Linked DNA regions of Homo sapiens: regions 2, 3 and 4 are each linked to region 1. The links are contacts of gene promoters, found by promoter capture Hi-C in blood cells and fetal thymus (Javierre and others, 2016). All regions are on one chromosome and are shown on one strand. Each heading gives the region's core, a stretch centred on a gene start or on the middle of the fragment in contact. The rest is flanking DNA. Distances are from core to core; before and after follow the strand shown.

What was found. Contacts are between HindIII fragments. The CHiCAGO score rates a contact against its expected background, and 5 or more counts as called.
Region 2: a contact is called between a fragment that was not itself captured here and the fragment with the promoter of NUMA1-AS1 in region 1, in 4 of 17 cell types (M0 macrophages, M2 macrophages, M1 macrophages and 1 more). The highest score is 8.6, in M0 macrophages.
Region 3: a fragment that was not itself captured here is called in contact with the fragment with the promoter of NUMA1-AS1 in region 1 in 1 of 17 cell types (M1 macrophages); the score reaches 5.1 in M1 macrophages.
Region 4: a fragment that was not itself captured here is called in contact with the fragment with the promoter of NUMA1-AS1 in region 1 in 2 of 17 cell types (M2 macrophages and M1 macrophages); the score reaches 5.3 in M2 macrophages.

The regions. Positions count from the first base shown.
Region 1 is chr11:72,012,848-72,015,547 of GRCh38, reverse strand. It overlaps NUMA1-AS1 (NUMA1 antisense RNA 1), which reads right to left and starts at 1,257. Exons shown (of 4, transcript NR_104178.2): 1 at 1-1,257. It overlaps NUMA1 (nuclear mitotic apparatus protein 1), which reads left to right. Exons shown (of 27, transcript NM_006185.4): 15 at 1-2,653. RefSeq lists an enhancer at 1-603. The HindIII fragment of the contact is 6,447 bases long and covers 1,252-2,700 here.
Region 2 is chr11:71,974,557-71,977,256 of GRCh38, reverse strand. The region is part of intron 3 of RNF121 (ring finger protein 121); the gene reads right to left. Among named protein-coding and RNA genes, the nearest start is that of IL18BP, 23 kb to the left of the region's middle. The HindIII fragment of the contact is 1,936 bases long and covers 290-2,225 here.
Region 3 is chr11:72,058,367-72,061,066 of GRCh38, reverse strand. All of the region lies in intron 2 of NUMA1 (nuclear mitotic apparatus protein 1), which reads left to right. Among named protein-coding and RNA genes, the nearest start is that of MIR3165, 13 kb to the left of the region's middle. The HindIII fragment of the contact is 198 bases long and covers 1,283-1,480 here.
Region 4 is chr11:71,957,331-71,960,030 of GRCh38, reverse strand. All of the region lies in intron 2 of RNF121 (ring finger protein 121), which reads right to left. Among named protein-coding and RNA genes, the nearest start is that of RNF121, 30 kb to the right of the region's middle. The HindIII fragment of the contact is 1,489 bases long and covers 514-2,002 here.

The sequences.
Region 1 (2,700 bases), core at 8-2,507:
GGAGGAACTCCAGGCCTGTGTTGAGACAGCCCGCCAGGAACAGCATGAGGCCCAGGCCCAGGTTGCAGAGCTAGAGTTGCAGCTGCGGTCTGAGCAGCAAAAAGCAACTGAGAAAGAAAGGGTGGCCCAGGAGAAGGACCAGCTCCAGGAGCAGCTCCAGGCCCTCAAAGAGTCCTTGAAGGTCACCAAGGGCAGCCTTGAAGAGGAGAAGCGCAGGGCTGCAGATGCCCTGGAAGAGCAGCAGCGTTGTATCTCTGAGCTGAAGGCAGAGACCCGAAGCCTGGTGGAGCAGCATAAGCGGGAACGAAAGGAGCTGGAAGAAGAGAGGGCTGGGCGCAAGGGGCTGGAGGCTCGATTACAGCAGCTTGGGGAGGCCCATCAGGCTGAGACTGAAGTCCTGCGGCGGGAGCTGGCAGAGGCCATGGCTGCCCAGCACACAGCTGAGAGTGAGTGTGAGCAGCTCGTCAAAGAAGTAGCTGCCTGGCGTGAGCGGTATGAGGATAGCCAGCAAGAGGAGGCACAGTATGGCGCCATGTTCCAGGAACAGCTGATGACTTTGAAGGAGGAATGTGAGAAGGCCCGCCAGGAGCTGCAGGAGGCAAAGGAGAAGGTGGCAGGCATAGAATCCCACAGCGAGCTCCAGATAAGCCGGCAGCAGAACGAACTAGCTGAGCTCCATGCCAACCTGGCCAGAGCACTCCAGCAGGTCCAAGAGAAGGAAGTCAGGGCCCAGAAGCTTGCAGATGACCTCTCCACTCTGCAGGAAAAGATGGCTGCCACCAGCAAAGAGGTGGCCCGCTTGGAGACCTTGGTGCGCAAGGCAGGTGAGCAGCAGGAAACAGCCTCCCGGGAGTTAGTCAAGGAGCCTGCGAGGGCAGGAGACAGACAGCCCGAGTGGCTGGAAGAGCAACAGGGACGCCAGTTCTGCAGCACACAGGCAGCGCTGCAGGCTATGGAGCGGGAGGCAGAGCAGATGGGCAATGAGCTGGAACGGCTGCGGGCCGCGCTGATGGAGAGCCAGGGGCAGCAGCAGGAGGAGCGTGGGCAGCAGGAAAGGGAGGTGGCGCGGCTGACCCAGGAGCGGGGCCGTGCCCAGGCTGACCTTGCCCTGGAGAAGGCGGCCAGAGCAGAGCTTGAGATGCGGCTGCAGAACGCCCTCAACGAGCAGCGTGTGGAGTTCGCTACCCTGCAAGAGGCACTGGCTCATGCCCTGACGGAAAAGGAAGGCAAGGACCAGGAGTTGGCCAAGCTTCGTGGTCTGGAGGCAGCCCAGATAAAAGAGCTGGAGGAACTTCGGCAAACCGTGAAGCAACTGAAGGAACAGCTGGCTAAGAAAGAAAAGGAGCACGCATCTGGCTCAGGAGCCCAATCTGAGGCTGCTGGCAGGACAGAGCCAACAGGCCCCAAGCTGGAGGCACTGCGGGCAGAGGTGAGCAAGCTGGAACAGCAATGCCAGAAGCAGCAGGAGCAGGCTGACAGCCTGGAACGCAGCCTCGAGGCTGAGCGGGCCTCCCGGGCTGAGCGGGACAGTGCTCTGGAGACTCTGCAGGGCCAGTTAGAGGAGAAGGCCCAGGAGCTAGGGCACAGTCAGAGTGCCTTAGCCTCGGCCCAACGGGAGTTGGCTGCCTTCCGCACCAAGGTACAAGACCACAGCAAGGCTGAAGATGAGTGGAAGGCCCAGGTGGCCCGGGGCCGGCAAGAGGCTGAGAGGAAAAATAGCCTCATCAGCAGCTTGGAGGAGGAGGTGTCCATCCTGAATCGCCAGGTCCTGGAGAAGGAGGGGGAGAGCAAGGAGTTGAAGCGGCTGGTGATGGCCGAGTCAGAGAAGAGCCAGAAGCTGGAGGAGAGGCTGCGCCTGCTGCAGGCAGAGACAGCCAGCAACAGTGCCAGAGCTGCAGAACGCAGCTCTGCTCTGCGGGAGGAGGTGCAGAGCCTCCGGGAGGAGGCTGAGAAACAGCGGGTGGCTTCAGAGAACCTGCGGCAGGAGCTGACCTCACAGGCTGAGCGTGCGGAGGAGCTGGGCCAAGAATTGAAGGCGTGGCAGGAGAAGTTCTTCCAGAAAGAGCAGGCCCTCTCCACCCTGCAGCTCGAGCACACCAGCACACAGGCCCTGGTGAGTGAGCTGCTGCCAGCTAAGCACCTCTGCCAGCAGCTGCAGGCCGAGCAGGCCGCTGCCGAGAAACGCCACCGTGAGGAGCTGGAGCAGAGCAAGCAGGCCGCTGGGGGACTGCGGGCAGAGCTGCTGCGGGCCCAGCGGGAGCTTGGGGAGCTGATTCCTCTGCGGCAGAAGGTGGCAGAGCAGGAGCGAACAGCTCAGCAGCTGCGGGCAGAGAAGGCCAGCTATGCAGAGCAGCTGAGCATGCTGAAGAAGGCGCATGGCCTGCTGGCAGAGGAGAACCGGGGGCTGGGTGAGCGGGCCAACCTTGGCCGGCAGTTTCTGGAAGTGGAGTTGGACCAGGCCCGGGAGAAGTATGTCCAAGAGTTGGCAGCCGTACGTGCTGATGCTGAGACCCGTCTGGCTGAGGTGCAGCGAGAAGCACAGAGCACTGCCCGGGAGCTGGAGGTGATGACTGCCAAGTATGAGGGTGCCAAGGTCAAGGTCCTGGAGGAGAGGCAGCGGTTCCAGGAAGAGAGGCAGAAACTCACTGCCCAGGTAAGGTACTCAGCCCAACCACCCTCCCAAAGATCAGGAGCTGAGAG
Region 2 (2,700 bases), core at 8-2,507, 38 kb after region 1:
TCATCTTACCACCTCTGCATCCCCTCATGTTGTAAGCTAGGGATCACCCTCCCACCATACCTGGCTGAAAAGCAATATAGTGGATGAAATGAAACTATAAGCCCAAGTAGTAGAATAAAGGTAGAGATCCACAGCTAATAGAACAATCAGCTTGAAAATAGGCTGAGAAATAGACTGCAGTCAACTGGAGGTAGGTTTCTGGGACATGCTCCATGGCTCTGCTCAATATTTTCATAAATGATTTGGAAGAAAACACAAAGAACCTCCCAACTGTGGACAGCACAAAGCTTGTGGGGAGGGAAAGGGAGGCAGTGAACATGGAAAATAGAAGAAATAAGATCAAAATGAAAAAAGTTTATTTCTAGGGTTCTTTTAGCCCTAACATTCCATGAGCTAATAAGCTGAAATGAAGAATCAAAACCACAAAATGAAACCTAACTACCAAAGTATAGAATGGGGAAGGAATGGCTTAATAGTAGCTCACATGAAACAGGCTTAGGGGTTTCAGTTGACCACAAATTGCCAGGGAATATATGCCAACAGGGCTGCTGCCAACACAGCCAAGACAACCCTGCTTAACTAAGAATATACCCAGAATGGGCCAGGTGCCGTGGCTCACGCCTGTAACCCCAGCACTTTGGGAGGCCGAGGCAGGCAGATCACGAGGTCAAGAGATCGAGACCATACTGGCCAACCAACATGGTAAAACCCCGTCTCTACTAAAAATACAAAAATTAGCTGGGCATAGTGGCGCACACCTGCAGTCCCAGCTACTCGGGAAGCTGAGGCAGGAGAATCGCTTGAACCCGGGAGGCGGAGGTTGCCGTGAGCCGAGATTGTGCCACTGCACTCCAGCCCGGGCGACACAGCGAGACTCCATCTCAAAAAAAAAAAAAAAAAAAAAAAAAAAAGAATATACCCAGAATGGAGGGGGCAGCAGGTCTACTGTTCTCTGCTCTGTTAAAGTATCTCTGGGACCCTAGGATCAGGGCTTGGGGCCACACTATACAAAGAACACTAACAAATAAGCATGGCCATAAGACAGCAGGCCATAAGAGAGCAGCTAGGATTATAATAAAAGGCCTGGAAACCAAATCACATAAGGAACAACTGAAGACACCAGGATATTAAGCCTGGAGAAGACTACAAGAAGGCTTCAGATAAATGATATCTGAAGAGTCATCCAGAGGCCCAATAAACAGACATATTCAGTGTAGTTTCTATGACCTAGTGAGACACTACACATTACTGGACACTCTACAAGGCAGAAACACGGTTGGAGTTGTTTCCCTCCTATCACACCTACACATAGTAATCCTTACCACATAAGTCAGGCCACTCCAATACGAATATATTTGCTAGACAGCTCTTTCCTGATGCTGACCTGAAAAATCTGCCTTTGTGTCACTTCTGTCTCTGGGTCCAACTCTTATCTTTCAGAGGAGCACAAAGTAAACTTACTCCATGTTTCTTATGACTACTCTTCTAATACCTAGAACTATGTCTTCTTTCCCATCTTTTCCACTTCAAGCAAACGAGTCAGTCAAGCAGTCATTTAATAAACATTTACTGAGCACTTACTGGATGCCATGCTAATGACTGGGGAATTCAGAGATGAAAACCAAAATCTCCTGAAGAACACAAGTCTACTGAGGAGAAACAAATAACCACAATTAAGTGCTTTAATGGAGTAAGGGCTGGTGACCAAGAAAATACAGAGGAGAGGCACTCCACTCAAAGTGGAGAACCCACCCCCCTCCAAGGAAGGCTGCCTGAAGGAAGCATCCTTTGATCTCTGTCTTGATGGCCAATAGGTCCAGATAGAAAAAGGCATCATGATGGGTGTTCCAGGATGAGGGGACATGGTATACTTGAGAAAAGACAACTAGTATTTGAGGAAGGTGTGAGAAATGAGCCTAAAGAGGTAGATGAGACTCAAAGGAGGCTGATAAAGATACCACAGCTACAAGTTTTTGTTATATTCTGAAGATAGAAGTTTTTCCTTCTCATAGAAAGTGAATTACAACCCCTTACCACCTTAGTCAGAATTCTCTAATTCCACATTCTAGTAATCCTAATATCTTGGTCTAAGAAAAATCTACAGTACTTTAAAGATTTCCAGGTAGGAGATTTTGCCACTCACCGGTTCCAGGAGGGAAAGCAGTTCAGGAGGTAGAGATGTGAAGAGATACTATATTTGGTAGTAGACACAGATGATGAAAGCTTCTCCCTGGAGAACTTCAAAAATAGGATGGATACTTTTCCAGGCATAAACTTATCCCTTCCCCTAACATCCCTGAAGGAGCTAAAGAGTAATGTTAGACTCTGAATAGATGATGAAAACTGAGCTACGCAGAAGCCAAAAGGCAAGTCTGGTTTGGGCTAGGTTTCCAATCCAGATTTTCTGTCTCTTAAGCTGCCTACCAATCATCATTCACTGAGTTTGTGGGGAAATCTGGAGAGGCTGGGGAGGCAAGATGATGAAGAGACTTAAGAGGAGGTTGAGAAAGTACCTGAGATCCAAGGAAAGGACTTGGGCAAAAGTCGTTAAATAAGGAAACTCAAGAGGATTAAAAACTTCTGACTATGGCAGAAATTGACAAAAATTTCCTGAAGCCTTTGAGAGGAACCTACAGAAAGAACACTTAACCAAGAATCAGATTTTCATTTTAGGTCCAACTCTCCAATTTAATGGTCATG
Region 3 (2,700 bases), core at 132-2,631, 45 kb before region 1:
TTAGACAGTCTTGCTCTGTCGCCAGGCTGGAGTGCAGTGGCACGATCTCGGCTCACTGCAGCCTCCAACTCCTTGGTTCAAGTGATCTCCTGCCTCAGCCTCCTGAGTAGCTGGGATTACAGGCACACGCCACCACGGCCAGCTAATTTTTGTATTTTTAGTAGAGATGGGGTTTCACCATGTTGGCCAGGACAGTCTCGATTCTCCTGACCTCGTGATCCGCCCGCCTCGGCCTCCCAAAATGCTGGGATTACAGGTGTGGGCTACCGTGCCTAGCCTAATTTTTTTTATTTTTTGTAGAGATGGGGTCTCGCTAAGCCTTCCTAAGTACTGGGATTGCAGGCATGAGCCACTGTGCCCAGACCTGAGCTTTTCTTTAGTTTTTAACTCTTGTTTTTTTTGTGTGTGTGCGTTTTGTTTTTTCGACATGGAGTCTCACTCTGTCTTCCAGGCTGGAATGTGGTGGCACAATGGCAGTTCACCACGGCCTTGGCCTCCCAGGCTCAAGCAGTCCTCCCACCTCAGCCTCCTGAGTATCTGGGATTACAGGTGCATGCCACCACAACTGGCTATTTTTCTAATTTTTGTAGAGATGGAATCTCGCCATGTTGCCCAGGTTGGTCTCGAACTCCTGGGCTCAAACAGCAAGCAGTCCACCACCTTCAGCCTCCCAAAGCACTGGGATTACAGGTGTGAGTCACTGTGCTTAGGCAAGTTATTGTTTCTGTTTAGACCCCAGTAGTAAATATTTTAGGCTTTGCAGACCATGTGGTTGTAACTACTCACCTCTGCCATTGGAGAACAAAAGCAGCCATAGACAATACTTAAATGAATGGGCGTGGCTACGTTTTAGTAAAACCTGATTTACAAAATATGGGCTGCTAACTTATAGGCCATAGTTTGCTGGCTGCTGGTAGGGGGAATTACACTTGACAGAAAGAGGCCTAGTTTTGATGGGAAATTGTTAAAAAAACAGCTTTGATGTCTGGACTTACTGGTTGTGTCACTCTAGCATCTCTGAACCCTCATGTTTAAAATCAAAATGGTAATACCTTTCATAAGAAATAAGAATGAACAGTTGCATATGTGAGGAGATGTTTAACTTTTCTGGAAATAAGATATAAATTAAAACAATAATATATTCTATCTTATATATTGATAAAATATATTGGTAGAAGGGTGTAGATGGGAATTTTTATCCTCTGTTGGTGAGACTATAAACTAGTACACAGTTTTAGATGGTAATTTGGGAATATCTGTTGACATTTAAAATACACAAGCTTTTCAACCCATTAATTCTAATTATTGGTATATATCCTAGAGAAATATTAGCTTGTGTGTAAAATTAGAGATGTGCTGCCAGTGTTATCAATACAGCATTCTTTGACATGCAAAACACTGTGAACAACCTAAATGTCCAGATGTAGCAAAATGGGAAAATAAAGTTGTGGCACATTCTTACATAGGATTTTTTCAAGCTTTTAAAAGTTTAAGGAATTGCCAGCCATGATAGCTCACACCTGTAATCCCAGCACTTTGGGAGGACAAGGTGGGCGGATTGTTTGAGCCTAGGAGTTTGAGAACAGTTTGGGCAACATGGTGAAATCCCATCTCTACAAATAAATTAGCTGGGTATGGTGGTGCGCACCTTTAGTCCCAGCTACCAGGAGGCTGAGGTGGGAGGATCACCTGAGCCCAGGTGGTTGAGGTTGCAGTGAGCCATGATGGTGCCACTGCACTCCAGCCTGGGTGACAGAGTGAGACTTTGTCTCAAAAAAAATTAATTAAAAATGTGAGGAATCTGTTTTTTGCTGGTATGGAAACATGTCAAATAAATTTTTACATGAAAAGGGCAAGTTGCAGAACATATTATATGGTATGATTACAGATATGTAGACCAAACACACATACCTGTATGTGAATATATACCTGTATGTGTACATGCTTAGGAAAAATCCAAAAGGTTGTACAACAGACTTCTAACAGTGGTCACTTCTGAGCTGGGGAGTGTCACTGGCAAATGTGGGTTGAGGCTTAATGAAGAGGGAGTTTTACATTTTACTCTAGATACCTCCGTATTATATTATTTCACAGTGATAATGTATTCCTTCTCCTTTCCAATTGTTTGGAGAGCTCCTGGGCCTGTCTGCACTTGCCAGGATTAGGAGTGTGACAAGGTAGCTAGCTGTGCTCACATCAGTTGAGTTGGAAGCAGCTGCTGAGACCAGAACAGGGAGCACATGTAAGGGGAGGAGGGGGATAGCATGTGCAAGTGACTGAGAGAGGCAGCCAAGACAGGCCATTTCCAATTTACCAACAGTAACTATCACATGTCTTGTCTTGACATTCTCCAAGTTACTTTGCTCTCTGTCATCACACTGGACCCTGAGGATGATTCTCTGAGCAAGGGAGGTAGGGATGATGATGAGACCAGGAGTAATCAAAACATGGGACAACAAGGAAAGTATGTGTGTAGAAATAGTTTTTTTTCTTTAACTTGAAATACGTCAAGGATACTCATTACAGCATTGTTTGAAATGGTAACACTGAAAATAGCCATTCCCTCAATAGAAAAATATGTGAACACGTTATGGATATCCCTTATATGGACTTTTATGTAGCTTTTTAAAAGTATGAGTTAGAATTTTAGTTATTGATGCTTGGGGAGATGTTGATAAATTGTTAGATGAGATAAGTTGC
Region 4 (2,700 bases), core at 9-2,508, 56 kb after region 1:
TGGCTAATACTGGCTAAAAACTTGTTCTAAGAACAGTCACTCCTACCACTCTGGGTCACAGTCATCCAAAGGAGAGGAATGAGAAAGGAATTAGAGGCCGGGCGCGGTGGCTCACACCTGTAATCCCAGCACTTTGAGAGGCTGAGGCCGGAGGATCACGTGAGGTCAGGAGTTAACGATGAGCCTGGCCAACATGGCGAAACCCCGTCTCTACTAAAAATACAAAAATTAGCCGGGTGTGGTGGTGCATGCCTGTGATCCCAGCTACTCAGGAGGCTGAGGCAGGAGAATCACTTGAACCTGGGAGGTGGAGGTTGCAGTCAGCCAAGATCGCAACACTGCACTCCGTCCTGGGCGACAGAATGAGATTCCATCTCAAAAAAAAAAAAAAAAGAAGAAGAGAGAGAGAAGAGAAGGAATTAGAGAGAAAATCAAATACATCAGAATGTGTGGGAAAGGGCAAATTTAAATAAATAATAAAATCAAATACAAATGTAACTTGAGTCATAAGCTTTTATACAATTCCCATTACACCAGGGTATTTAGGAGGGAGGAAAAGGACAACATAAATAGTGTCTTCATGGAATTTCCATGGGCAATTAAACATTAACAGCAAAAATAACCCAGAAGGATGAATTATAAACAATAAAGCAAATATAACAAAAAGTGTAGAACCCAGGTGGTAAGTATAAAGGTGTTCACTGTACAATTCTTTCAACTTTTCTATGTGTTTAAAGTTTTTCATAACAAAATGTAAGGGGGGAAAACTTGGTGGGCAGAGTGGGAAGCCAAATGCCAGTCAGTAAGCCTCAGCACCTAAGGGTTCATCTGACATAAAACTTTACCCTGGGTGGGAGAATCTGACAGAAAGAGAATAGGATTGGGAGTTCGAAACTTAGATTCAGACCCACCTATATGGCCATGGCCAATTAACCTCACATCTGTATATCACAATTTCTTCATCTGTCAAAAGGAGTCCATATTTTTTCTGCCTGACTCAAGAGTTGTTGTGAGAATAGGCTAAGAGGGTAGAGCACACTTAAAAACACCTAAGGGCTATGAGGAGTTATAAAGATAGCAAGAGATAAGTTTCTTGTTCTCAGACAACATATCAGTGAACGGATGTGCACAAAATGAAGTCAAAGAATGATCTAGAAAAGACCAGAGAAGTCATCCAGTTCAAGTTCCCACCCAATGCAAAAATCATTTTTGCAATCTTTGCTTGAATACTTCCACTGGCTGAGAACACATGCCTTTTAAGGTAATCTATTTTAGAACCAGCAGTGTCTGGCACATTGTAGGTACATATACATATATTATTTTTTTGGAGAGAGTCTCGCTCTGTCATCCAGGCTAGATGAACTGCAGCCTCGAACTGCTGGGCTCAAGGGATCCTCCTACCTTGGCCTCCCAAAGTGCTGGGATTACAGGTGGGAGCTACCACACCTGGGCAGGTACTAATATTTGCTTATAAATGAATAAAATCCCAATGTTTTAGGGACAGAAAGCTCATTACCTCTCAATATACCTTGACTATTAAAGACAGTTCTGACAATGAGACAAAAAAAAAATCTATCTTCTTATAGCTTCAGTCCATTAGACCTAATCCGATACTCCATAACAACAAAGGACATATTGACTCTTCTTTCCCAATGCCACCCCTTCAAAGATTTATCATGATGTTATTCAAACAAAACAAAACCATCCTGTTCCTACCACTATTTTCCTGTGCCCTTTGAGGCTAACAGTTCTAGATCTTTTAACCACTGTTCATATAACATGATATGAAGACTATTAATCCAGGTTGCCTTCTTCTACACATGATCCAGTTAAAGATCTTTTTAATATGCCATGCTTAGAACAAAATATTTGTGACCTCAGCAGAGCAGACCACAGTGGCACTATCACCTCTCTTACAGCAGACAGCATATTTCTACGAACATCTTTTAAATTATTCAGAATATTTTGGTAGCTGAGGTACACAACTGGTTCATACTAAGCTTAAAATCACCTAAAATCACACTGGGTTTGTCATGTGAACAGGTATTTTTGCCATTCTATGTTTTTATAGTCAATAGTTTTAATCTAAATAAAATCAATAGGTTTTTTCTCACTATTAAATTCTAAGGTTGATATCACCTCATTGGTCAGTCACCTTGTGAAGTTCGTGGGGCAGGCACTCTGAAACCCTTTTACTGATGAGCAATCATCATAAGATATATGATGGCTCATTCTATTTACAAAACAAGTTAGTTGCAGAGTTGAGAACAGAAGATACATCTCCCATTTTCTTAACCAGAGCTCCCCATCCTGTATCATGGATAATAATGATGATGTTAATGATAATCATCTTCAAAGCAGTTAACACTTACTGTAAGCTTACCACATGCCAGGCACTCTTCTAAGATTTTCACATATATTAATCCTCACAACTCTATGAGGTATAGATATTGTTATGATCCTCATTTTACAAATGGGGCAAAGTAAGGTTGTGAGAAGTTAAGTAACTTGCTCAAAAATCACACAGCTAGTAAATGGTAGAAATGGTATTGAAACCCAGATAGATGATTTGGTGCAATCATCTGCTTACACATTCAAGACTAAGAGAGCAACCCAGATACTTAGAGAGATCCCAAAAGACCAGTCCTACCGGTCATGAGCCACTGCCTCCTACTGACAAGAAAGCAAAATGGGTAGACA